6 separate regions of the Homo sapiens genome follow, and all the other regions are linked to region 4. Evidence: promoter capture Hi-C in 16 types of primary human blood cells and fetal thymus (Javierre and others, 2016). All regions are on one chromosome and are shown on one strand. The core of a region is centred on a gene start or on the middle of the fragment in contact, and the rest is flanking DNA. Distances in the headings are between cores, read along the strand shown.

Region 1 (4,507 bases), core at 1,161-3,660, 270 kb before region 4:
CCTCAGCTGTAAAATGAAGGTGATATTTCCCTTGTAAGATTTTTGTAAGGATTACACAAGATAATGCATGTATAATACTTTACATTAATAAATAATGCTATAAGGCCGGGCGCGGTGGCTCACAGCTGTAATCCCAGCACTTTGGGAGGCCGCGGTGGGTGGGTCACGAGATCAGGAGTTCGAGACCATCCTGGCCAAAATGGTGAAACCCCGTCTCTACTAAAAACACAAAAATTATCCAGGCGTGGTGGCACGTGCCTGTAATCCCAGCTACTTGGGAGGCTGAAGCAGGAGAATTGCTTGAACCCGGGAGACGGAGGTTGCAGTGAGCCAAGATCATGCCGCTGCACTTCAGCCTGGGCGACAGAGAAAGACTCTGTCTCAGAAAAAAATAATAATTTAAAAATAAAAAAAATGAATAATAAAAAAAAGATGCAATGTATTATTATTTATTGTAAGATCCATGAAGGCAAGAATGTATCTATCTTGTTCTCTGCTATGTCCGTAGTGACTAGCAAAAATGCCTGGCCCAGACAAGGTGTTACATAAATGTTTACTGAATTAAATGAGGAAAACATACATGGCGGGGGTGTGGAAAGTGGCAATATCTCCTTGAATATGCTCCAATACCATGGGTTACTTGTTAAATGGACACAGTGATTCCCTAGCCCTTGTTCCAGGTTCGGCTGTATACCCATGAAGGATCATTCTCATCTACACTGAAGGTCAAGGACCAGGCTGGGGAAGCCTTACCCAAGATATGGCATCCCATAGGGTGTTCGGGGAGACACGGGAAGACATCCATTGGAAGGCATCCTTCCATCCATGGGACCTTGGACCCCCGCTCGTGCCTGGGCCATGGGGACCTGACCTAGATGATGAAATAAGAGGCTATCAAGTAGGGGCAAAGGGAGACCAGGGACTGGGTGCGGTGGCTCACACCTGTAATCCCAACAATTTGGGAGGCTGAGGTGGGTGGATCACGAGGTCAGGAGTTCAAGACCAGCCTGGTCAAGATGGTGAAACCCCATCTCTACTAAAAATATAAAAATTGGCTGGGTACAGTGGCTCACACTGTAATCCCAGCACTTTGGGAGGCTGAGGCGGGCAGATCATGAGATCAGGAGATCAAGACCATCCTGGCTAACATGGTGAAACCCCGTCTCTACTAAAAATACAAAAAAAATTAGCCAGGCGTGATGGTGCATGCCTGAAATCCCAGCTACTTGGGAGGCTGAGGCAGCAGAATCGCTTGAACCCAGGAGGCGGAGGTTTCAGTGAGCCAAGATCGCGCCACTGCACTCCAGCCTGGGCGACAGAGCGAGACTCTGTCTCAAAAAAAATAAAATAAAATAAAAATTAGCAGGGTGTGGTGACGGGTGCCTGTAATCCCAGCTACTCGGGAGGCTGAGGCAGAGAACTGCTTGAACCTGGGAGGCGGAGGTTGCAGTGAGCTGAGATTGCCCCACTGCACTCCAGCCTGGGCGACAGAATGAGACTCCATCTCAAAAAACAACAAAAAAAAAAAAATAAAAAAAAAGGGTGACTAGGGGAGGAAATGAGTGGTAAAATGGCAGTATCTTACCTGTCGAGGTTAGGCACAGGAACCAGCAAAGTGGAGGAGGTAGTCTGAGGCCCATCTGGGCTGGTGGACTTAGGAGTCACCCTCCAGAGGCTAGGTCCCAGTGTACGGGGAAGAGCTGTACAGAACAACCAAAACTCAGGCACCTCAACAAGAACCCAGGAATCACTGTCATCTGCCTCAGCAGAGGTTCTTAAACATGGATACACATGGGAATCTTTTATCTACTACAGATTCTAGGGTAGTACCCCAGAACCAATAAACTAAGATTTCTCAGGGTAGAGCATCCACGTTTTTTAAAAGCGCCCATGTGATTCTGCTGGTCTCCTGTGGATGCCAACCACTGTTCTAAGATGACCAAACGTTCATACATATACTCTCACTAATGTTTGGGGCTCTTTGACTCTAAACCTCTCCTCTCTTCACTGGCTATGCCTACTCCATTGGCCCCTAATCCTCTTTCATTCATTCAGTCCACCATCTCCTGCCATTGGACTCCTCCCCCTCCCAACAGTCCTACCAACTTCTTGGACTCCACCCTCTTCTAGCTAGGCCCATCCACATCTCAAATTCCAGCAGCCCCTGACTTCCCCGCCCTCTTTCAAGCCCCGCCTTCCTTGGCTCTAACCCGGCCCACGATCGCTTCGGCTGTTTCCTCGGGCCCGCCCCCACTCCAGTTCGGTCTTTGCGGCCCAGAGTGACGCTGGTTGCTTGGACGTCCCTTACCTCGGCCCAGGAGTCCCGGGAGGCGCCACATGTCGCTGCCAGCACCACAGAGAGCTCGCAGCCGAAAGCGCGAGACCAACCCTTGGGACAGCGGCTAGAAAGGCCGCCGCGATGCCCCGAGTGGCCGAGTACCCGAGGAAGCTCTGAGCTGGCCAATTAGAAGGGAGCCCGGCCGGAAAGACGGCGCTGCAGAGAGGAAGTGCAGGGCGGAGGCGTATTCGGGGCCAGCGGGGCGGTGACGTGCGGCAAGGGCATGGGGATGTGGGCCCAGGCTTCCGTGGGGGATGTCCTTGGCGTTCCCAAGCCGAGGCAGGGGACCGCAGGTGGCGAAGCGAGCCACCCGGAAGCGGGACCTTCGGGAAGTGGGGCTGGAGCGGCTTCAGGGAAGTAAGAGGACCTTGCAGACCGTGAGGCCGCGAACCAGGAAAGGCTTCTCCAGGCCCTAGGCTTGAGGAAGTGGGAGTAACCAGGCTCCATGGGCGGAGGAGAGGACCCCCGGGGTCCCACAAATGAAGCCAGTAGGCCGGGCTTCCGTCCAAGGCCACCTGCCTGGAGATGCCAGGCCAGGGCCCGACTGCGTAGGCGATGAGAAACCGCACAGGGCAAGGCTTTGATTCTGGGTTCTAGCTCCGGTCCAGCTTTATCTCACTGTGCAGCTTCATGCCAACCCCTTACCTTGTCGGGGCCCCAATACGCGCCAGATAGGGTCAAATGGAATGACTGGCCTGACAAGCTGAGATTCTTGGGTAGCTCCTTTCAAAATACCTGAGACACCACCCGCGCCCTATTAGAACCCTCGTCTTCAGACGTGGCAAAAGTTATGTATGTGTTTGTTCTTTTGTGGAAAAGAATAGTTCCGTCTGGTCCCGGTGGCTCACGCCTGTAATCCCAGCACTCTGGGAGGCCGAGGCGGGCGGATCACCTGAGGTCAGGAGTTTGAGACCAGCCTGGCCAACATGGTGAAACCCTGTCTCTACTAAAAATACAAAAATCAGTTGCGCGTGGTGGTGGGCGCCTGTAATCCTAGCTACTCTGGAGGCTGAGGCAGGAGAATTGCTTGAACACGGGAGACGGGAGGTTGCAGTGAGCCGAGATCGCGCCTGGGCGACAGAGTGAGACTCCATCTCAAAAAAAAAAGGAAAAAAAAATAGTTCCTTTCACCACATTTGAATCCGTGAAATAACGGAGCTTACATTCAAGTATAAGATGTTTAGATTTCCTCCCTATCCCCTTCCTCCAGGTATGTGACTTTAAGGTGAGTGGAAGTTGCTACCTGGGGTAAAAGTGTACTGGGGGCACCTACTTTTAGACCGAGGCATGTGGCTTGAAAGTTGTATTAATATGTTAGACAACTTTTTTTTTTCTTTTGAGACGGATTCTCTGTCGCCCAGGCTGGAGTGCAATGGTGTGATCTCGGCTCACTGCAACCTCTGCCTCCCAGGTTCAAGCGATTCTCTTGCCTCAGCCTCCCAAGTAGCTGAGATTACAGGCGCCTGCTACCACATCCTGCTAATTTTTGTATTTTTAGTAGAGACAGGGTTTCACCATGTTGGCCAGGTTGGTCTCGAACTCCTGGACCTCAGGTGATCCTCCTGCCTTGGCCTTCCAAAGTGCTGGGATTACAGGCTTGAGCCACCGTGCCTGGCCGTTAAAGAACTTTTGAGCCATATATCAGCCCGTTCTAGGATCTGAGAAGACAGCTGAGGAAAGAGCATTTGTGGCCTCCAGGAACACGGTCCAGTGGATTAGTAGTGGGCTTTGGAGTCCCACAAATCTGGGTTGGAATCACAGCTTGCTTACTTCGTAGGTATGTTATCTTGTGCAGGTTCCTTAACCACACTAAGTCTCAAGAGCTTCATCCGTAAAATAGGGAAAATACCTCATGCAATTGTTGTGAGGTTTAAATAAAATAATATGTTAAAAATGTTTAACTTGGTGTTTTGGGAATACCCTTCAAAAAATAAAAAATAAATAAATAAAAATGTTTAGCATAGTTCCTGGCACATAGTAAAAGCCCAGTAAGTGTAAGTTGCTATTAATTATATTAGTAGGGGAGGTAAGCAGGCAAGTGTAATAGGTTAGGTTCCCATAGAAGCATGAACAATGGATTGTGGGATCCCTTGGAAGGCTTCAGAAAAGTAGTTGCATTTGAGCGGGGCCTTTAAATGTGAATAAGAGCTTGCCAGGTGGAGAAGGAAG
Region 2 (4,315 bases), core at 450-2,949, 500 kb before region 4:
CTTCTGAAAAAGAACACACTACACTATTATTCATAATAATCCATAAACTGGTTAGAGGGATCATTGAAATGTCAATCCAGGAGGCTCCTAATTTTCCTGTTTGGCTTTCAAACAACCCACACTTCTGTGCATTATATACTGATATCCTGAACGACTTCCTATGCTGATTCTGGATATACATACACAGCAGATGAATGGACATTTGCAGCTATCAGACTGTGCTGGTGCTGATTTGTGTAGTAATTTGACCATCTTGGTGTATTTTTTCTTCATATTTCTTAAATAGAAAATGAAAAAAATCAAATGGCTGATATCATAAAAACAACTGGTCTCTAAATTTAAGATTGAGACAAGAATAGAAATCAGGAGAAATGAGGAATCTTTAATTTCAACTGACTGAATGCTCACAGGACTCAAACCAGTTGGTGCATTCAACTGAGAAAAAGAACAAATGAGAACATGCAGAAAACACTGGAAATAAATTATCTAAAATTATGTCTAAAAATTGAAGCATAATTAGGAATTCCAGAATGATTTAAGATCTCTACAACTCCTCTCTACTTTTTTAGTCCATTATCTTTTACAGAACCAATGTTCAAATACATTTTTAGGAATGTATTTAGTAGGATATAAGAGGACTTCTTGTGCTGAAAATGAAGAAAAAAATTGACCCAACATTAGTTTTTTAATCGCATCTACTGAATGATTCCCTAAGATTAGAAAAAATTGCCTTAGCAATCAACAAATGCAAGCCAAGAAATTAAGCACTAATCTACAGTAAAAGGTGCTACACAAGAGATATTTATTAATGTTCTGTTGTATTTACAGTTTTAACATAGCAAACCAAGATGAATTACCACTTGGGCAGAAAGCACATCATTCTACATTATAACCCACTGGTTTCTGCTAACACATTGTAAAAGCAAGTAGTACAGTATGTTAGGGATCATCTCAAAAGTTCCAAGCTACTTCTTTCTTTGCTCCTAAGTACCTAATCCTCTCCTTACTCCCAGACTTTGGCCTAATCACCAGGAGACAAAAGGAAAATAAGGGGGGTGGGGGTGGGGGTGGGGGTGAAGAACGCTAATTATAGAAAGAGTGTCAAGAATTACATTTTAGTAATTAAGCTTCATTTGTATCCTAGTGCTTTCTGTTTTATACAGTGACAACACCTTTAGAATCCCTTAGGTACAATAAGGTACCGCAGAATTGTGAATACAGGCTATAAAAAATTAATGCTTATTATTTACCAATTAAAGACTTATTTTTGACCACACCTTAAATGTATTTTTGCACTATGATTTTGCTTCCAGGTGTTCATACAGAATTGAATAAATTTCTAGATTAACTTGAACAGCAAATATGGATTATGTGCAAAAACACAGTCATAGCAAAAGTTTAACTTTTGAGAAAACCCCTTTAAAATGGCCAGCATTATACATATCTTACAATATTTAATTCCAAGTTCATTTTGAGATGGAGGATGAATAAAGCAAGACTGCCCCCTACCGACTACAGGGACATGGCTCATGCTACTTAAAATGACTACAAACAATATATAAGGCATTATTAATACATCACAGACTTGATTGCAAGAGCTTTTTCAAACATTAACCACTAATGATTCAATGATTACAGAATTCTGCATTAACTATTAAAATTTTACACCTAGGAACAAATAGAGAGAAATGATCTTTTCAACAGTACTTTATTTTTTTAAAGCAGGTGATTATTCCTCTGTGTTCTGCATCTTGATTCACTTCCTGCAGGTGTTCTCTTGCTTCTTGAGAGAGAATTCATAAATGCAGGAAGGCCTTTGCCAGAAAACATCTGCCAGAGAAGGATATTGAATATTGAAACTCTAGTTAGCTTGTTATTTTGGCTAAGAGAAGGATGTAGTCACAAAAGAAGGCAGGATGTTTGGAGACACAAGTGCATTTTAACATAGTTTTAAGATTACTGTATACTGACATCACGGTATTCAATAAACATTAAAATTTCAGTTCTTAAAGTTATCAAGGCCTCTAGAACTAGAAAAAACTGGAATGCTTTTTCTAAAAACTCCTGAAGTCAGGAGTCTCTCTTTCCAAACCTCTTAACAAAAGAATACAATGGAAGCAGTGCTACTGCGCATCCCACACTGAACGCTGTCAGCAATGACTGAAACTTGGGACAGAGAGCATAATCCAAGTGCACAAGTAATTTTCCTAATATACCTGAAGATACTGTTTACCCTAACAATTCCACTAGATATTGCACAAGGAAGCTTTCCAGTAAGGATGCCAACCATGTCATGCTATACCTCAACCGAGCATGGCAAAATTAGAAAACAAGGATAAACTCACAGGTACCACAAATACTTTTAAAAAACAAGTTTTCCTAAAAAGTCATTGTATTTGGGGCATGTTTCTCTTAAAATAATACATGTACTTTCAAACTAAATTTTAAGAAAGGAATATATCTGACTGAAATAAATGCTCTCGAAATAATGCCTACGCATTTTACTAAATGCAGTTTTCATCTAATACTTTGAGGCATTTCTGTACTAGTATATTGTTTTGGTTCTCATGAAAATAACTTGGGAAAAACTACAAGTAATTCCCTATATTAACAATAAAAGAAGAACTATTAAGAATAAAAGAAGAAACACTAAAGAGATACATTTACTGCTTAATAAACATTTATTGAGAAACTATTTTGTGGTACTCAGCAAGAAGTGAGAGTTGGATGGGCTCAAATATCGGCCTATAACTTACTTTTCTATCCTCCAAATTACTATAAAAGCCACAAGAAACTCTTCTATGTCTTTTCTTTCTTTTCTTTTCTTTTTTTTTTTTTTGGAGACAAGAGTCTGTCACTCAGGCTGGAGTGCAGTGGCGCGAGCTCGGCTCACTGCAACCTACACCTCCAGGGCTCAAGCCAACCTTCTGCCTCAGCCCCGCAAGTGACTGGCACTAACAGGCGTGCACCACTATGCCCGGTGTCTTCTGTATCTTTTCTGATTAGATTACTGCGTAAGTATTTAAAAGGCTGCCAAAATGGAGAGAGACTACAAACACACTGGAGGAAATGAACATATTTTAATATTATCAACATTTTTCCAAACTATAAATTCATTTGTGTTGTGATTTGAAGTAAACCACTGAAACTGATACAAGGACATCTTTTCTTTAGATTGAGAGACATAAGAGATTGAAAGACCTCGGAAAGCACAGAGACAGAGACACAAAAATATGAGGAACTCTAAAAGCCAAGCAGAAGCAAAAAAGAAAATTGGCAGATGAATATTAAATGAATGTTTTTGCAATGAGGCCAGACTCATTATAAACATAAATAATTTGTTTTATCAGTTTCTATATATTTTTTTTTTTTTTTTTTTTGAGACGGAGTCCCGCTCTATCACCCAGGCTGGAGTGCAGTGGCACAATTTCGGCTCACTGCAAGCTCCGCCCCCCGGGTTCATGCTGTTCTCCTGCCTCAGCCTCCCGAGTAGCTGGGACTACAGGCGCCCGCCACCACACCCAGCTGATTTTTTGTATTTTTAGTAGAGACGGGGTTTCACTGTGTTAGCCAGGATGGTCTTGATCTCCTGACCTCGTGATCTGCCCGCCTTGGCTTCCCAAAGTGCTGGGATTACAGGCGTGAGCCACCATGCCTGGCCCAGTTTCTTTTAATAGATGAAAACTGATGAAACAGTGACTAGTAGGTCAAAACAGAGTTTGCAAGAATATACAATATGGTACGGACAATTACCTGGCCACTTCCTTAGTTTATGATGCTTTAGCATAGGTAAACAGCTTTAATAGATCCCTCAAAGTCAAAGCCTGACACCCAACAAACATTAAAAATCCCTTTGCTTGTTCAGTAAGAGAAGTAAAAATTAAATTAAAATAAAATATCTCAAGAGGACCTAGAGAGGTCACCAGTGGGTAATCTCAATCACCACACAATCTCCAAATGAAAGACTGCTAGAGGGCACTGCTGTCTGAGACTTGGAGGCTTGAGTGGCAGTGTTACAGAAATGCTGGCAGTACACAAACTGAAGAACAAACAGATCTTAGGGACTCTGGACCGTATTACTAAATTATAGATCAGATCACTTTGTAAAAAAAAAAAAAAAAAAAAAGGAATCCAATAGCCTACAGATCATTTAATTCCAAGAGGAAGACAACCAGTTCTTCTTGGAGACATGTAAATTTTGTTTAGCAAAAATTCTACTGGAAACACCATTTCCCTATTATCTTGCTATCTTATAACATAGTCCAATAAGTAAACCTTTACCTTGAGATGAATTTCCTTTAATAAAATAAAAGAA
Region 3 (4,703 bases), core at 708-3,207, 290 kb before region 4:
TGGCCCTGGACCGGCTGAGCGCCCCTGACCCGGCCTGGATGGCGAGACTCTCTTTGCCCCTCACCACCAACTACCGTGACAATGTGATCTCCCCGGATGCTGCAGCCACGGAGGAGCCAAGGACCTTCCAGACGTTCGGCAAGGCAGAGGCACCAGAGCTGAGCCCAACAGGCACGAGGCTGGCCAGCACCTTTGTCTCGGAGATGAGCTCACTGCTGGAGATGCTGCTGGAACAGCGCTCCAGCATGCCCGTGGAGGCCGCCTCCGAGGCGCTGCGGCGGCTCTCGGTCTGCGGGAGGACCCTCAGTTTAGACTTGGCCACCAGTGCAGCCTCAGGCATGAAAGTGCAAGGGGACCCAGGTGGAAAGACGGGGACTGAGGGCAAGAGCAGAGGCAGCAGCAGCAGCAGCAGGTGCCTGTGAACATACCTCAGACGCCTCTGGATCCAAGAACCAGGGGCCTGAGGATCTGTGGACAAGAGCTGGTTTCTAAAATCTTGTAACTCACTAGCTAGCGGCGGCCTGAGAACTTTAGGGTGACTGATGCTACCCCCACAGAGGAGGCAAGAGCCCCAGGACTAACAGCTGACTGACCAAAGCAGCCCCTTGTAAGCAGCTCTGAGTCTTTTGGAGGACAGGGACGGTTTGTGGCTGAGATAAGTGTTTCCTGGCAAAACATATGTGGAGCACAAAGGGTCAGTCCTCTGGCAGAACAGATGCCACGGAGTATCACAGGCAGGAAAGGGTGGCCTTCTTGGGTAGCAGGAGTCAGGGGGCTGTACCCTGGGGGTGCCAGGAAATGCTCTCTGACCTATCAATAAAGGAAAAGCAGTGATTCATTCTCCTGTTTGCACCTGTCAAGAGGGAGAAGGGAAGAGTAATAGAGTGGGGTTTATTTGTCATCCAATCCCTGGCAAGACCGTCACACTGGGCCTGGACAGGAGTGGGGCACCTTGGTACACAGTAACAGGTACACAAATAGCAGACATGTGTGCTCTTACCCCTGTTCCCCTATCACTATGTTACCAACTAATCTGCTTCTCAGCTGCAAAATTAGAGCTAAGAAAGCACAACTATTTATAAAGCATTTACATGAGCCAGGCACCAGGCTTTACAATAGGATTTAATTTGATTTTCCAACAATCCTGGGAGGGAGGTATTATTAACCCCATTTCACAGACACGGATATGGGGCTTGGAGAGGTCAAGTGGCTTTCCCAAGATCAAGCAGGGAGTAGAGCCAGAGCCAGGATTTGGACCCAGGCTGGGCCAACACCAAAACCCATGCCTTCAACCTTGACACCAGCCTGCCAACCAAAGACAGGAGAAGGGAAGGCCCTGGAGGTGAGCTGTTGGCAGCAGTGAACTTGCTCGAGCTCCCTCGGGAAACACTGTTGAAAGGAACATTTCCAAAGCCATCCAGGCCCGCACCTCTCTACATTCCCAAGCACAAGGCAAAAGGAACTTGGATCTGAACTGATGCAGACCCGTTCTTTCCCAACAAGTAGCTCTTCAAGTGCGGATGTCATCTTTCCCAACCCCATTTGCGGGTAAACCTTCCTCTGTCATTGCAGGTTCAGGCTTGTGAATCCCAGAGGACGCTGTGTGAACTGGGTCTATGAAATCGGCACTGACAGCAGCCAGCCTTCCAGGGGATGGGGGAGGGAAGAAACAGCAGATATTTTCCCAAGGTTCAGCTTTATAATTTTCTTGGAAATTTCCGAGCAGCCAATCAGCTAGCTTCTAAATAGTGTGGGTCTCTCCTGGACACTGCAGGCAAAAGTTCCTCTATCTGCTCCTCTTTTTGTCCTTTCTTGGAGCTCAGTGCTCATGTTCACTGTTCAAGAAATGGGCCAATCATACTCCCAACTAGGGATAATGTGCATCATACATACTTGGAATACAGTGTGGTATCATTATTCCATTTTACAGATGAAGAAAATGAGGCTCCCCAAAGTTATGAGTTTCAGGGGCAGAGTTTCTCCTCACCTCACTCTAGGCCAGAGTGATCTCCTTACAGAATCTGTGATTTTCAGGCTGGATCACAGAACTGTTGGGTTCTGTGGGCCAGTGAGAGAAACTGGGGGATATCAAGCAGGCAGGCAGGGTCTCCAGCCTGACCAGCCAGGTGCCTGCTACAAAGCAACACTTGATGAATAGCTGTTGAATGGATGTATGAATGAATAAATGTGTCAATAAATGCTTCAGAGGCCCCTTTTATCCATATTGGAGCTCCAGGTAGGACTTCATTAGAAAAAAAGACTCTGTGATGTAAAAGCAAAGTCTGAGAACCACAGTACTGGAGTAGACCATGGTGACCTCCCAGTTACCAGCAGATTTTCAGTGCAGAGCAGATGTTGGGAGGGTGGAGAGAAGAGAGTGGGCAGGGGGAGATGACCTGAGGAAGCTGGAGCTATAGCTGGCAACTGGATCACTAGACACATGGGACCATTGCATCATTCTAGTTCAAAAGCCCTAAATCTGTACTCCTTGGGCACCCTGAATACTAGGTAAAACTTTGTGTCTAGACACTTTTTTAGGCAGAAGATACAAAATTCTCATCAGATTCTCAAAGGAAACCTTGACCTTTAAAAGGTTACACAGCATTGCTTTAAGATACTATCTAAACATCCACAGACATGGGCAGTTGTCATAAAGAGTCTGAACTTTATCTATTTCAACTCTTCATTTTATAGCCAAGAATATAGAAAGAAACGGCAGATGACTTGCCCAAGGCCACCTGGCAGGTTTGTGGGGGAGAGCTTTCCAAATTAAGACATTTAACTGAGTGCTTGCTCAAATCAGGATTTGGATCTGGGATTTAGTATGGTGGTCTTTTTAATACATCAAGGATTCTTAATCTGACGTCTTTGGTTAGACTTCAGGATCTATGAACCTACTGAACTACATGCAAAATTGGGAGGATATGCATTTTTTCTATGGAAAGAAGTAGGTGCTTAGATCAGATTCTCAAAGAGATTTCGGGCCCAATTAAGATTAGAAAGCACTACAATCCTCTAGGTCAGCCCTCAGCCCTGCCTTCCCTGCAGAACCTGGAGAACTCCTGCGTAGAGCTGCTCCTGTTCTGAACTTTGATCAGAATGGGGGTGTATGTACGTGAGGGACAGTGTTCTCTCCTGCACCATGTGTCCCCTCCTGATGAGCTGATACCAGCACCTTTCCCAATAACAGCTCAGAGTGAGACCGTGTCTATGGTAACAGAACTGGGTGTGTTGAACAGGAAGGTTACAGAAATTTCTTGACATCAGCCAAGATGTCAAAGCTGAGACTTTGGACACGCTCAAAACAGTTTCCACCAAGATGGGCTCTGTCCCCTGGGAGACTGAGGGAGCAGGCGAGCCAGCAAGCACTGTTACATGTCGTCCTAATTTGGAAAGCATAGAGGGACATTTTTTAAATCAATAGTCAGCCGTTCTCCAGCACCAGGAGTGCAATGCAGTGCTCACTCAGAGCCTGGAGGCAGCTCAGAGATTGACAGGCAGCTGCCTTGTCTGTCACCCAACTTCAGTTTGGCAGCTCACTGACGCTGCCTCTTCTCTGGCTGAAATAAGAGTGATGTGGCAACCACTACCTTTGAAACTCTGGAGAGAACCAAATCCCAAAAAAGAGAGGACAGGAGGAAGGAGAGGCTTGGCCTGGCACATAGTGTGTACCTAGAAAATAGATAAGCATTTTCTAGCTCCTACTAAATTTTGGGTACAACGTGGGAGGAGTAGGACATGATCAGAAACACTCATGCAACAAACATTTTGTGTTTATTGAATAATTACTAAGTGCCAGAAGTAGCACAGGAAACCGTGTGTGTGTGTGTGCGTGTGTGCGTGTGTATAGGCGGCGAGTGGGGGGCAATACAGAATTATTCATTCAAGTTATTTAAAATTATTCATTCAAATTACTTAAAGTACCTACTATGTGCTGGGTAGGCTTGGTGCTGGGCATTGGGTGGGGGGAGTTGAGTATAATCACTCACTTATTTGTTGAATGTATATTTACTGAACATCTGAGTGCCCCACACTATATTAGCACTAATGATATAGTAAACCAAATAGCCTTGTTCCCATCATAGTGTCAGGACTCCCTGAAAACAGCATCTCCGGATAGGGAAACTGAGGCAGTAGAGCTTCCCACAAAGGTCTCATTGGTGAGGGCGCCGGGCTTTAACCCAGCATCCTGACCCAGGCTGGCCCTGCTGATGGGAGCCACCTCCCTCTCGTCCTCTCACACTTCCTCTGGGGCACTGATGATGAGTCATTAATAACAGAATTTTAATGGCAAAAGCACAGCAGTACCCAGCTCTGCCAGTGAAGCCCATCCCCCTGGGGCTGGATCAAGACCGCAGTGACTGAACAGCCAAGGATTTTTGGTCCCTTGACAACACCTTTCTCACGACTCTGCCATCCTTCCCTTTCCACAGGAGAGGCCCTTCCTTTTTAAATTGGAGAGCTTAAAAATATCCTACCCCCAACCTTTGGCACCCCAAATTGAATCAGTACTTAGCTCAGTAGTGACTGAGTGGGAGGGAGAGCCACTCAGGGAGGGCTGCATCTGGCCTTCACCACAGGACGCCCAGTGGCCAGACTGTGAACCAGCCCTCGGCCCCAGCTATGGCTAGAAGGAAGTAGTCAGAAAATCCAAAATGACCACAGAGGGGAGGAGGCTGGGGAGTGGGGCTCCACAGGGAGGG
Region 4 (4,918 bases), core at 429-2,928:
TTGAGACCATCCTGGCAAAGATGGTGAAACCCTGTCTCTACTAAAAATACAAAATTAGCTGGTTGTGGTGGCACGTGCTTGTAATCCCAGCTACTCGGGAGGCTGAAGCAGAAGAATCACTTGAACCTGGTAGGTGGAGGTTGCAGTGAGCCGAGATTGCACCATTGCACTCCAGCCTGGCAACAGAGCAAGACTCCATCTCAAAAAAAAAAGAGTGATTGTGGAGATGGTCTTTGGATGGGTGGATGGGGAAGGCATCTGTGAAGAGTTGCAAAGTAAGGGAAAGAAGCTGTTGGAGGCGACAGATGGAACGCTGGAAGGAGGAGATTCTGGAGAAAGAAAGCAGGCATGAAGAACTCTGCATTGGAAGGGACTTGGTCTACTGAGGGAACAGCAAAGAGGCTGGAGCACAGTGAGCAGACAGTGGGAGGAGAGTACAGGCTGAAGTAAGAAAGACCAGCAGGGTCTTCCATGCGTAGCCTTGAAGGCCATGGATTCTATTTGGATTTTATTCTGAAGCAAGTGCATTTTAAGCAAGTAAATTATGAGATCTTATTTCCCTTTAAAAAAGAAAAAAAAGGTTGATCACTCTGAGTGCTGTGTGAACAGTGGGTTGGGGTGAGGGCAGTGTGGAAGCAAGGAGATCAGATATTAGACCAGAAGTCTAATAATGGGGGCTTGGACTAGGATGGTGGTCTTGGAAATTGAGGGAAGTGGATCAAGAGGTTTTTGTTTGTTTATTGTTGTTTGAAATAGAACCTGTAGGACTTACTGATGGATAGAATGTAGGGGTAGGAGAAGGCACATTGACTCTGGGTTTCTGACTTAACTGACTGGAGGAAATGCGGTGCCATTTAAAACGTTACGGGGGGAGGATCAGGTTGAAGGAGGTTTAAAAGCTTTAAAAGTTGAGGTTCCTATTAGATATACTAGCAGAGGTGTCAGTGGGGAGTTGGAATGTGAATCTGGAGTTTTGAGACATGTCAGGGGTACTGGGACAGGTGCCTGAGCCAAAGAAGCTTAGGTGAGGAGGATGAGGAATTGGGGAGAGGCTCCTCAGGAAGCAGTGCTAGGGCTGGAAGATCCTAAAGGTGGCAGGGGCTTCCTGCGCATCTCCCAGCTCTCGCCGACTCACTGGTATCGTTTAGTTTTCAGTGGGGCCAAGTCTTTTTCCCTTTGGGCCTGGTTCCTTCCTGGATCCAGGCATCTTTCTCACCCCGCTCACGCTGGCTTTTCCAGTTAAGCGGGAATTAGGAAAAGGTCTGGGACCAGCCCTCTCTTCGTCAGATGCATCTTTGCTCAGGTGCCCAGTGACTCAGTTTCCCTGGTCACACACTGAATTCCTCTCCATTCCTCATCATTAGCTCGGGGACTGGGGATCTACATATGCAAATGAATAATTATCAATAATTACAGGCTGAATCAGTGGTTACACTACAAATAGAACTTAGGCGTCTTGACTCAGATGCCTGGGGTTCTTCCCACCGCCCAGCGGACGCTGCGTCCGCCCCGCCCGCCCCGCCACCCGGACCCTGCCGGCGTATTCGCAGCAGTAACAGGTTTAGTTTCTCGGTGGCCCCCTCTCGCTTCCGCGCCCTGCGACGTCGCCGGACAAGTCGTGGGCGGGCAGAGGGCGGGGCCTGACCTGGCCTGGGGCGGGGCTCCATAGTGGGCGGGGCTTCCTCCAGTTCCGGAGTCCAGTGGCTGACCGCCTTGCTGGAGCGGAGATGCAGCCGCCGCCCCGAAAAGTGAGCTTGGCCCTGAATGGGGACTCCTGGCGGGCTGGGGGAACGGAGGGAGCTAAGGGGGCATCCGACTTGTGGTAGGAGACGGGAAGTCGGAAGGGGTCAGACCCCAAACCAGAAGTAACAGAGGAAAGAGCTCAGCACCCCCCCGGCCCCGCCCCCTCACCGCTCCCTGCGCGGAGTGTTTTTTAGGTCCTTGCGCTGGGGTCTTCATCCTCTCTTTGCCCCCACAGGTGAAGCCGGCCCAGGAGGTGAAGCTTCGCTTCCTGGAACAGCTGAGCATCCTTCAGACCTGGCAGCAGAGGGAGGCGGATCTGCTGGAGGACATCAGGTAGCTCCCCCAACCCCCTTCATTTACACTCACCTTCGTCGTTGTGCGCCACTTCTCCCCAATATACATGTGCTGGGGTGGAGGAACAGGGGCCAAGAGCTCCCCAGCCGACCCATCCACAGCCCTCACCCTAGGCCTGGCCTCTCCAGATACTGGATAGGAATGCTCCCCCACCTAACCCCTCCCAACCCCCTCCCACCCACATAAACACACAGGAACCCTCCCTCAAAGCCCTTGACTCCACACCACTGCCCCCAACCCCACAATCAACCTTAGGGCAGAATCCCTCTCCCTCTTCCAGACCTGTTGGAAGGCTGGCAGACATCGTACCCAGGCCCCCATCAGTCTTCACCTCTAAGCCTACAGATGAACCTCTGGGGTGGGGAGGATCCTGCTGGGGCCCGGGGCAGTAAGGTGAGGGTTTCCTGTGTTGCAGCTGCCCGAGGTGATCTCAAGGACTCCCATCAGTCCCATTCCCTCTGGGTGTAGTTACACTCTAGGAACCTGGCTCCCCCCAACCGCTCCCTCCTGCCCAGAGTAGAGGACTGAGGATGGGAGAACAGGACCAAACATAACCTTATCCCCCACCTCACCCCCGACCTGCAATCTCCGCAGATCCTACAGCAAGCAGAGGGCAGCCATTGAACGGGAGTATGGGCAGGTATGGGACTTTTCTCTGGACCTTACCTCTTGTTCCAGCCTCTCTTATATCACCAGTAATGTCTGTCCATACCTATCCCTATTGTGGTCAAGAGCAGATGCCTAGAGTCAAGCAGACTGGTGTCAGATCCCTGCTGTGTAATTATAGCCATGTGACCTTGGACAAGTTACTTAACCTTTCTTGACCTCAGTTTCTTTCTCTGTGAAATGGGAATAATAATAATACCTTACCTTCATGTAGGGTTGTTGTAAGGATTAAACAAATTAATGACTATAAGGCATTTAGCAAAGCAAGTGGCACATAATGTACCCAAAGAATGGTATGATTATACTCTGATGTCATATTCTGCCAGTTGGGGTGGGTCTTTGAAAGGGAACTTGGTTCTGTGATGGCTTTTTCACCAGGCACTCCAGAAACTGGCTGGCCCATTCCTGAAGAGGGAAGGGCACCGGAGCGGTGAGATGGACAGCAGGTGGGCCCTATGGAGGGGGAGGGCCACAGAGGCCAAAAAGTGATGGGGAGCTCAGCCCCAGGAACCTGTGGGGATGAAGGCCTAGCAAGTGGGGAAGGCACGTGAGCTGTAGGTAGAGCTGACACAGCAGCAGCAGAGGAGCTGACCCAGCAAGGACACTGTGGGTGGGGTGGAGGGCAGGAGTGAGGCTTGTGGCTGAGCTAATGGGCTGATCGATTGATGGGCTCCCAGACAAGGGAGGATGGGAAAGCACTCTGTCTCCCATGGTGTTGGTCAGGGGGCAGGGGGTGGGGGTGGTCTCATGAAGCTGTGGAGTGCTCTCCTCCTCAACACAGACCTTCTCTGGGGAGGGGCAGGACAGTGTTCGGTGCCTGGCGCTGCCTGCTGGATGCCACCGTGGCTGGGGGCCAAACCCGACTCCAGGCGTCTGACCGATACCGTGACCTAGCAGGGGGTACAGGGCGGAGCGCCAAGGAGCAGGTGCTTAGGAAGGTATGGCTCAGAGGTTGGGGTGAAGGAAGAGCTGGCTTGGGACCAAAGGTGGTCTAGGTAAGGACTTTGTGTATGCATCCCAATAGGGAACAGAGAACCTCCAGAGGGCGCAGGCTGAGGTGCTGCAGTCTGTCCGGGAGCTGAGCCGAAGTCGGAAGCTGTATGGGCAGCGGGAACGTGTGTGGGCCTTGGCACAGGAGAAGGCGGCTGATGTCCAGGCCAGGTGGGGTCATGGAGAGTGAGGAAGCCCAAGGTTGGGGAACAGGGAGGTGGGGCTGTCTAGGGGTGGAGCCAAGTCACCAAAGCTGGGCCTGACTCTGATCTCATATTCTCCCACTTGGGGTGGGCCTGACTCCTTTCTCTCATCTGCACAGGCTAAACCGAAGTGACCATGGGATCTTCCACTCTCGGACCAGTCTCCAGAAACTGAGCACCAAGGTTCGAGGGATGAGGGCATGAGTGGGGGCAGGGAAGAGGGAGGCAGAGTAGTCTAGTGGTTTGGAACATAGGTGCATATGTATGAAAGACTGGGTTGAATCCAGGCTCTCCTACTTCCTGGGTGGGTAACCTTGGTTAATTTACTTGATCTCTGTGAGCCTTATTTTCTTCTATAAAATGGAGAGAATACCCTTCTTTTTCAGTCCTTTAATATGCATTTATTGAGGATCTGTATATAATAGGCACTGTTCTAGACATTATGGATACAGTGGAGAACACTACCAATGGAGTTCCTGCCCTCACAGTCTGGTTAAGAGAGACAGACAGCAAATAAATACTTAGATTAAGATGAAAATAAAACAAGGTACTATGATAAAGAATAACAAGGGGGTAGAATTTAGAGGGAGGCCTCTCTGAATAGGTGGCCTAACTGTCAAGAAGGAGCTGGCCTTGCAAAGATCTAGGGGAAGAACATTGCAGAGAGAAGAAATGGTGAGTGCAAAGGGTCTGAGGTGGGAATAACTTTGTAGGCTCGAGGAACTGAGAGAGGGCCAGTATGGCTGGAGTACTGTGAGCAAGGGAACAAGCGCTTGAAAAGAGGTCAGAGAGATTGCGGGGGCCAGCTCATATTGAACGTGGTGGACCATGGTAAGGAACAGTGGATTTTATTTTAAATGCGTGCAGAAGGCACTAGAAGATTTTGAGCAGGAGTTGTGTGTATGCAACATTTTTAGTGTAGTGCCAGGCACATAGTAAGCACTCAATAATGTGAGAATCCA
Region 5 (4,294 bases), core at 1,240-3,739, 480 kb before region 4:
AAAAACAAAACAAACAAACAAACAAACAAAAGCCGGGCACAGTGGTGCACACCTGCAAGTCCCAGCTACTTGGGAGGCTGAGGTGGGGGGATCACTTGAGCCCAGGAAGTCAAGGGTACACTGAGAAGTGATCACACCACTGCACTCCAAATTCAGCCTGGGCAACAGAGCAAGACCTTGTCTCAAAAGGAAAAAGCAAAAAAAACAAAAAACAGCAAAAAGCAAACCTTAACATTCACCAAACTGTATACTTACAACCTCTGCTTTTTTTTTTTTTTTTTTTTTTGAGACTGAGTCTCACTCTGTCACCCAGGCTGGAGTGCAGTAGCACGACCTTGGCTCACTGCAATCTCTGCCTCCCAGGTTCAAGTGATTCTCCTGCCTCAGCCTCCCGAGTGGCTGGGACTATAGGCGTGCACCGCCAGGCCCGGCTAACGGCTAATTTTTGTTTTTAGTAGAGATGGGGTTTCTCCATGTTGGCCAGGTTGGTCTTGAACCTCTAGCCCCAGGTGATTCGCCCACCTCAGCCTTCCAAAGTGCTGGGATTACAGGCATGAGCCACTGTGCCCAGCCTTTGACCTCTTTTTTTTTTTTTTTTTTTGAGACGAAGTCTCACTCTTGTCCCCCAGGCTAGAGTGCAATGGTGCGATCTCACCTCACGGCAACCTCTGCCTCCCGGGTTCAATCGATTCTCCTGCCTCAGCCTCCTGAGTAGCTGGGATTACAGGTGCCTGCCACCACACCCAGCTAATTTTTGTATTTTTAGTAGAGATGGGGTTTCACCATGGTGGCCAGGCTGGTCTCGAACTCCTGACCTCAGGGCATCTGCCTGCCTCGGCCTCCCAAAGTGCTGGGATTATAGGCATGAGCCACCATGCCCAGCCTGACCTCTGCTTTTTACTGTGTGTGTTATATATATATAGTCCAGTAAATAAAATAAATGCCTTCAACATTAAATAAGTGCCCCCAAATAATCTGATTCAAGTCACTCATCCTCCTGTTCTCTGAATTTTGACAACTTATATAACATCACCTCTAAAAGCATTGCATTTTCTTATCTTTCTAATACAACAAATAAAGGAAATGGTTGCTCACTTCTATGTGAGGCACACAAAAAGATAAATGGCAAGTAACATGAAGGGAGAAAATCAGGCTGACTTTGATCTGTCAGAAAAAAGAAGCTTTCAGAGCAAAATTCATCAAAGGCATTTAATTCCTATTCTACAGATTAAGTATGAGTAGAAGCAACGCAAAAGGGCCCCGTAGACCTGGAAGATGAGGCTTAGCTCATGTAAAAATGCAGCATCCTCATAACTGCTTTAATTATATTTTCCACAGATATTCATGAAAATAGAAGGCAAAGAGAAGGGATATTAAAACAAAGGTATATTAAGCTTTGAATATTCCAGTAAAAGGCACCAAATAAACATAATGTATTAATATATTAGCTCAACTAGTTATTTTAATTCAGTCAGATTCACCCATAATCCAAAGCACTCTAGTTTGTAGGGGGTGGTTCTGATATGCATACATACTTACTGAAAAAAGTTAACATGAAAATCCCATCATTTCCTATCCTCAGCTGGTCAGCATCATCAAAATCATCCCGACCCACAAAATCCTCATCCTAAATGAAAAGAAAAAGAATTATTTCTAGGCAAAGGGAAGACATAAAGAAAAATGAAGGGTTAAATTTGAGTAGCAAGGAAAAAAGTTATTGCTTTGGTTCAGTTCAAAATTATGAGCATTAAAGGCTCAATGTGTGTTTAAAATTCCATTTTGCATTATTAATATATAATTAGAAAAGAAGCAAATCTTTCTTCTATCCCCAGTGTTCTAAATGAAATTTTCATCTTATAACCCAAGTTCTTTAACAATACACTTCAAAAATTTAATACACTTCAAAAACAATACACTTCAAGAATAGTTCACAAAGAACTATTTACTCTTCCTTTAAAAAAATATACCTCAAGAAAAGACAAAAGACAAAATTTACTTACACATTTGGTTTAAATTCTAGAATATCAGTAATCGAGGACCTGTTTAGGACCTAAAATATTAGTAATTAGAGATAAAATCAGCCAGGTGCAGTGGCTCATGCCTGTAATCCCAGCACTTTGGGAGGCCAAGGCAGGCAGATCACGAGGTCAGGAGATCGAGACCATCCTGGCTAACATGGTGAAACCCGTCTCTACTAAAAATACAAAAAAATTAGCCGGGAGTGGTGGCGGGCACCTGTAGTCCCAGCTACTCGGGAGGCTAAGGCAGGAGAATGGCATGAACCCGGGAGGCAGAGCTTGCAGTGAGCCAAGATCCCACCACTGCACTCCAGCCTGGGCAACAGAGTGAGACTCCGTCTCAAAAAAAAAAAGATAAAATCAACCAGCTCAAGTGCTTTACGAGGCTGATATAGGGGAAAAAAGAATAGTACGATCATACATGAATAGTCCACAGAACTGCCCACTGCTCAACTCCATAAGCATGTATTTGTATTGGTATACAGATCTAAATCTCACTTCTAACCTTATCAGCAGATAAGATCTTTTCCATCCTAACTTGATAACGTAATATTGCAAAACTAGAAATAACATGATCATGAACAATACCAACACATGTGGGCTATCTTTTTAACTGATATAGGTGTGTGTTGAGATATTTAAAAATAATTGAATATATACTTAAAAGTGATAGATTTGTACACAGTTCAATGAGGGCTCCTTAAATGAAAAATATTTTAGGGAATATCAAAACTTGTTGTACACAGAAAAGGGTCTGGAAGACCCAAATTGTTAACAGTGGTTCCCCTGGGGAGTGGGAACTAGAGAAAGGGAAGTCGGTGGCAATGGCAGCTTCCTTTTCTAACTTAACATACTTCCTCTATTGTTTGAAATTTCTATAAAAACGAATTTTTATAATTAATTTTTTAAAACATTAAATACCTAGTATTCTTACTTCGTATCAGCAGAATAAGGTTTTGCCAAAATTAAAAGCTAATTGTTTTTTGCATAACTATTCAAAGATATACTCCAAAAAATATATGGAAGTAACATCTAATAATATTACGAACACCTTCTAACTGTTCTTCCTGTCCTCTTGGTATCTCTTCTACCATGATGCATCCTAGAAATTGCTGCCAAGTTAATGTTTCCAAAACACCACACAAGTCCTCTCATACCCCTGCTCAAAAACTCTGAAGGATTCTCTAAAAGCTACATATGAAGTTTAAATACGCCCATCTAACATTCCAAAGATTCTATAAACAACAGTTGTAGTCAGGACTTTCTATCTCCCTTCACAAACTCTTGCTCATACAAAGCCAATTACTACATCCACAGAACTGCCTTCACCTGGCTGAATTCACACCTGCTTTCTGTGCCTTTTTCCCTCTGGAATGTTCTTACCCATCAAAACTCCGGGCCCACATCAAATCTCATTTTCCCCTATGATCACCCAGTAAAAAGTTTCAGTTCTTGATGCCCACTGCTCTTATGTGTCTTAGTTATCAGTATTTGTGGGCCCTTTACCCTAGTTGGATTTTAGGCTTTTGAATAACAATGAGGAACACTGCCTTATACAAAGCTTTTTACCTATCCACTGTAAAATATACTGCATCTTATATTTAAAAAGTGCTTTATACATGTCTGCTGAATACTAGAGCCCTTTAAGAAGTTCCTAAATATGTACTTGTATCAAATGAAAGTATTCTGAAGAGTTATGTGATTAATCAGAGCTAATTTCCATACTGATCTATTTACCATATATTGCAACAGATCTGCAGAGTACAGTGAAACAAACAAGGACTTTGGATTCTAGAATATCTGGGTTTGACTTTCACTTCTGCTACTTATCAGTCATATGACTTTGGGAAAATTACTTTTTCTCTCTGGACCTAAATTTTCACATCTGTAAAATGGAGATAATATAATCTCTACCTTTCAAGGTTACTATGAAGATTGGAAACAATATACAAAATATATAAAAGCATCAAGCACAGTACCAAGCATGTGGTTTGCTTCCAATATACGGCAGTTACATTATGATGGTCTTGCCCTTAGACACTAGGGTTTTTAGTTTCTCCCTGGTACCTGTAAGAACTGAATGCACATCATCGCCATTTAGGATCATCCTAGATTGGGCTCATAAACTATTTCTACCAAGCAATGATTTTAGGAGCTTCGCTCCTCACAGTAGGTGTGGTCTGCAAACTGTCTACTATCTTAAAGCCAAGAGGGGAACATCTGGGCCTATGCCATCACACTGCCCAGACTAGGCTTCTGTACTTGCTCATCACTCA
Region 6 (4,469 bases), core at 316-2,815, 460 kb before region 4:
CCGACCCGCCCCTCCAGGCCCAGCGCGGCCTGCCAAGCCCCGGCGTCGAGTTGGCCGCGGGCCGGCCAGAGAGGCCTGAGGCGGCCAGCGGGCAGGGCAGAGCCAGGGACCGGAGTTCGGGGCTGGAGTCGGGCGCCGCTTACCTGCTGGTACCGGCTGCCGCAGGCCGGCTCGACCGCCGCCAGCGCCGCCAACGCCAACGCCATGGCGCAGCCGGCAGCAGGGAAGCAGAGCGAGCGAGCGAGCTAGCTGAAGGGGCGCGGCCGCTGCGGCTTGGGAGCGCTGGGAGGCCGAGGGGGACGCGCCTTGGGTGGGTCTCGATGGCCGCCGCCGCTCCCGGGCGAGACGCTCTTCTCAGGCTGTAAGCACCGCCGCCGCCGCCGAGGCTCCGACGCGGCCCCTGGGGAAGAGGCGGGGACTACGACGACGGCGCTGCGCCGCCGCCCCACCCCCGACTCGCGCCGCCCTGCCCGGCCCGGCCCGGCCTAGCCTAGTCCTGCGCCGCCGCCCCGAGGTGCACCGGCCCTGGTGTAGTTGCTCCGACGACCTGAGCCTCCGAGGCTCAAGTGTTGTATTCGATTCCACTAAAAACGAATTACTAACAGGCCAGCCCAAAGCAAGGGCGATGCTGCTGATGAGCACCTCGTGCCAAGCACTGAGCTTCACCTACGTGCCCTCATCCAGCCTTCAGCACAACCGCCCTGACGCAGGGACCACAACCCCATTCTCGAGGTCGTTGGCAACCAGAGAGGTTGACAATCTTCACAGCAGCGACCTGATCCCTCGTGTCTGGCAGCAGAATCGTGGTTCTTATTCACTCCCTTCTTTTATCTGCCGTACTCATAAACCAGGGGTCAGCCAGCGACAGGGAGGGGGCCAAATCCGGTCTGCCACCATGACTGTGAAAAGTACATGAAATTCAAGTTTCAGTGTCCATAAATAAAGTTTTATTGGAACACAGCAGCACCCATTTGTTTGGTATGGCCTGCAAACCCTATAATACTTGCTATCTGACATTTTACAGAAAAAGTTTGCTAACCCTAAATCCTTGAGAACTGCTTGGATCTCAAATCCTACTTAGGGTGGATGATTATAATAGCATCCTCATGTTTATGCCATCCTTTAGTATTTTAACAGCCTCATCTGCGGAATCGGAAACAATATTTTCCAAAAAAGCTCCCTGACTCGGTGACATGAAGTCAAAACTTGAAGGGTTTGGCCATGCTAAAGGCTTTCCCGACCACAGGAACAGGTGCAAAGGGCGGTCCAGAGAGAGATTGTCTTGTGGAAGAACAGAAAGGAGGCTGGCATAGCTGCCATATAGGAGATACAATTATCAGTGTTTCACAGATGAGGAAGTTATGCCCAAAGAAATTAAATATCTCACCCAATGACACAGAGCTACTAAGGGGTGAAGCTGGAATACAACTCCATTAAGCCAGCTTTCTTACCCAGTATTGCACAACTAAATTATAAGCTTTGTGAAGACAAGAGTATTTGTCTTTTAAATCTTATTACCTCCCAATGCCATGTAGCACAGTATAGCTATATAGCAGGCTTGCAAGGTCTGTTTCTTTCACACCCAGCCATCTGCAATTGCTTCTACCCACATGTCCTACAGAGAAAAACAAAATCTTCCATCTCTGAAGCTTGTTGCAATTCCCATTTCTTCTTCATTGCCTTTCCAAGTTGGCAGTGTAGAGGTTATATTAATATGATTATTGTCTTAGCTTCTAATTTTGAAGTTTAGTTAATTATGTATTTTAAAAGAGAACTGTGTTTAGAACACACCCTGAGGTTTCTGTATATATGAGAAAATTGTAATCAATAAAAACTCTAGATGTTTACCATCTTCACTTTGAGTTCTCTCTCAGCATCCAAACTCCTCTATATCTGTCGCTATTTCCAAGTATTAGTCTCACATATTAACATGCTGGGAGAGCGAACAAATGTAGCAACATTCCAAGCTCTCAAGTCTATTTAGAGCCTCCTTACTCTGTCCCTCAGTTGTTGTTTATAATCCAGAAAAACAACATTTAAATGTAATCAGGTACAGTGAATCAAACATAATGTCCTGCCATGTAGTCTTGTATAAAGGGTGCAAAAATCTAATTTGAAATTTTTTAAAATGTCAGCAGTGGAAAGTAGAAATCCAGACTTCTTTGTCCAGATTGTCTACATTTACGTGTAAGAAAGAATAAAAAAGAATGTCCACTGGGCACAGTGGCTCACATCTGTAATCTCAGCACTTTGAGAGCCTGAGACTCGAGGATCACGTGAGCCCAGGAGCCAGGAGTTCGAGACCAACCTGGGCAACATAGTGAGACACAATCTCTGAAAAAAAAAAAGAAAAAGAAAAAAGAATTTGTCGGCCTACCACATAAGGCTATTGGAGCAACAACTGCAATCTTTATGCATGTCTGCAGTGCTGTGGCTTTTGTGGAAAAGATGTTGCTACCCTTCTATTTCTTTCCTAAATTACTTTCTCCCTCAATATCTATATACTCCCTGCATGTGGACACAAATATTTATCATAATATAAATAACAGGCTTTATCATAGAAATATTTTGCATTGAAAGTAAAAGAAAATTGATCTCCAACTTCTAATCTCCTTTTCCTATGTCCTCAACCAAAATGTTTTGTAGTCACGGTAAAGATTTTGGTCTTTTTTTTCTTGAGTTCCCCAAAGCCTCTAATAAGTAAATTGAGATTATTTGCCTTGATTTGATGGGTGGATAAATTGGAGAATTGAGAAATTGAGTCACTGCTATATTAGGCCTCCAGCTGGCAGGCAAATTGTACAACGAAGGGGAAAACTGAATTTCTGGCTCACAGATCCATGCCTGGTGCAAGCCAAGCAGACAGAGAAGATAATCCAAAGCCATAAAAATTGTGCTCTTTGGCTTCATCTCGAGATGTTGTCAAGAGAGTTTCCACAGAGAAAGTTATTAATTTCAGATTGCTGCACTTAGAAACTTATTTCCCCACAGAATAACAGTAATACTTTCCATGTGCAGTACTGCATATGTGAATTGCTGACTCTGAATCATCCCTCCTGAGAGAGAAAAGAAACATGGACAAGTATAAGCATAACTCATGTCCGTATCCCTTTCCCCCTGCAATATAGATACAAATCTCTAGGATAAATGTGACCTTCTGTCTTTCATATCCACATGAGGCTTGACCTAGGTAGTGCAGAGCTCAGTAAGTAACCAAGAAGGGTTTGTTAAATGTGTTAAATTTAGACAAAAGCCTCATTAGTCTAATATCTCATTTGAGGCCTTGAACTTCTCCAGCTAGTCTTCACAGGGCTCCAATTAAACCATGAAGTTTTATTTCTATGACTTACTACTTCTTTTAATTCTCACTACATTACCACAAGGTTCATTAAGAGCAAAAGGTAATATCTTCATATTACAAATAAAGAAATTATCCACTGATAATTACTACTGTTATGGAGCACTTCCAGAATCTTGGACCTGATGGTACATCATCTGCTTAATCTTCATAACAAACCCATTCTGCAGATTCTTGAAGAGACTCAGGAAATTTACATAACCTACTCAGCTTTGTGAGCGGTGGAGTCGAAACGCAAACTGGGATTTGTCTGGCTCCAAAATGTATGCACTGCTTTGGGTGTGGAGAGAAATACGGGACATAAATAGACAGGAGATAGAAAGTTCTAACCTTTGGAGTCTTCATGATGAAATAGAGATGATAGTAAACACTTATTTGAGACATTTTTAAAATATAAAACTTACAAGTTATTTACAACTGTGTTGAGCTATATTAACTAATGCTGAGAGATAGTGAAGAGAATTATGTGGCCAGCTGGGATAATCAGGTAAGGATTGGGAAGAAAGGGTTTTGAACGAGAAAAGGGCTTTGTTGGCCAGGTGTGGTGGCTCACGCCTGTAATCCCAGCACTTTGGGAGGCCGAGGCGGGAGGATCACCTGAGGTTGGGAGTTGGAGACCAGCCTGACCATCATGGAGAAACCCCATCTCTACTAAAAATACAAAAAACTTAGCCGGGCGTGGTGGTACATGCCTGTAATCCCAGCTACTTGGGAGGCTAAGGCAGGAGAATCACTTGAACCTGAGAGGCGGAGGTTGCAGTGAGCCGAGATCGCGCCATTGCACTCCAGCCTGGGCAACAAGAGTGAAACTTCATCTAAAAAAAAAAAACAGAAAGAAATAAAAGGGCTTTGCTGTCATGGGAAGAGAGAAAGTTGTCAACCTGAAATAACAACAGAGAGATTCTCCAAAGACAGTGAGTTTATTTGTGAATCCTCAAGATTGCAATCTGGGATATGTATGCACCTCATGAAGGGCCATGGATGTACCCAGAGAGGGAAAGGAAGGCAAAGGTTTTAAAGGCAAAATGAGCAAGGTTACATAAGTTGTTTTGAAACTATTAACCTTGGCTACAAGGATCAATAACAAGGGTGGTATCACTCCAAGGCTGAA

What was found. The method cuts DNA at HindIII sites, captures the fragments that hold promoters and counts their contacts. A CHiCAGO score of 5 or more calls a contact.
Region 1: the fragment with the promoter of DELE1 here is called in contact with the fragment with the promoter of FCHSD1 in region 4 in 12 of 17 cell types (neutrophils, total CD8 T cells, naive CD4 T cells and 9 more); the score reaches 10.9 in neutrophils.
Region 2: a contact is called between a fragment that was not itself captured here and the fragment with the promoter of FCHSD1 in region 4, in 1 of 17 cell types (activated CD4 T cells). The highest score is 5.2, in activated CD4 T cells.
Region 3: a contact is called between a fragment that was not itself captured here and the fragment with the promoter of FCHSD1 in region 4, in 6 of 17 cell types (erythroblasts, neutrophils, monocytes and 3 more). The highest score is 6.6, in erythroblasts.
Region 5: a fragment that was not itself captured here is called in contact with the fragment with the promoter of FCHSD1 in region 4 in 1 of 17 cell types (megakaryocytes); the score reaches 5.9 in megakaryocytes.
Region 6: a fragment that was not itself captured here is called in contact with the fragment with the promoter of FCHSD1 in region 4 in 3 of 17 cell types (total B cells, naive B cells and fetal thymus); the score reaches 5.6 in total B cells.

What each region holds. Positions count from the first base shown.
Region 1 is chr5:141,921,774-141,926,280 of GRCh38, reverse strand. DELE1 (DAP3 binding cell death enhancer 1) reads right to left here and starts at 2,410. Exons shown (of 12, transcript NM_014773.5): 1 at 2,309-2,410; 2 at 1,586-1,700; 3 at 754-871. The coding sequence starts at 2,339. RefSeq lists an enhancer at 2,016-2,529. The HindIII fragment of the contact is 14,517 bases long and covers 1-4,507 here.
Region 2 is chr5:142,149,246-142,153,560 of GRCh38, reverse strand. NDFIP1 (Nedd4 family interacting protein 1) reads right to left here. Exons shown (of 8, transcript NM_030571.4): 8 at 1-1,830. Among named protein-coding and RNA genes, the nearest start is that of NDFIP1, 43 kb to the right of the region's middle. The HindIII fragment of the contact is 1,139 bases long and covers 1,130-2,268 here.
Region 3 is chr5:141,941,100-141,945,802 of GRCh38, reverse strand. It overlaps PCDH12 (protocadherin 12), which reads left to right. Exons shown (of 4, transcript NM_016580.4): 4 at 1-2,222. The coding sequence ends at 422. It overlaps DELE1 (DAP3 binding cell death enhancer 1), which reads right to left. Exons shown (of 12, transcript NM_014773.5): 12 at 3,756-4,703. Among named protein-coding and RNA genes, the nearest start is that of PCDH12, 15 kb to the left of the region's middle. The HindIII fragment of the contact is 7,155 bases long and covers 1-4,703 here.
Region 4 is chr5:141,648,178-141,653,095 of GRCh38, reverse strand. It overlaps FCHSD1 (FCH and double SH3 domains 1), which reads left to right and starts at 1,678. Exons shown (of 20, transcript NM_033449.3): 1 at 1,678-1,748; 2 at 1,979-2,076; 3 at 2,692-2,737; 4 at 3,142-3,209; 5 at 3,560-3,701; 6 at 3,788-3,924; 7 at 4,076-4,139. The coding sequence starts at 1,728. RefSeq lists an enhancer at 3,078-3,656. The HindIII fragment of the contact is 983 bases long and covers 1,022-2,004 here.
Region 5 is chr5:142,133,063-142,137,356 of GRCh38, reverse strand. It overlaps NDFIP1 (Nedd4 family interacting protein 1), which reads right to left. Exons shown (of 8, transcript NM_030571.4): 4 at 1,540-1,627. Among named protein-coding and RNA genes, the nearest start is that of NDFIP1, 26 kb to the right of the region's middle. The HindIII fragment of the contact is 2,185 bases long and covers 1,397-3,581 here.
Region 6 is chr5:142,104,712-142,109,180 of GRCh38, reverse strand. It overlaps NDFIP1 (Nedd4 family interacting protein 1), which reads right to left and starts at 402. Exons shown (of 8, transcript NM_030571.4): 1 at 144-402. The coding sequence starts at 206. RefSeq lists silencers at 1-42, 113-242, 303-572 and an enhancer at 150-651. The HindIII fragment of the contact is 172 bases long and covers 1,480-1,651 here.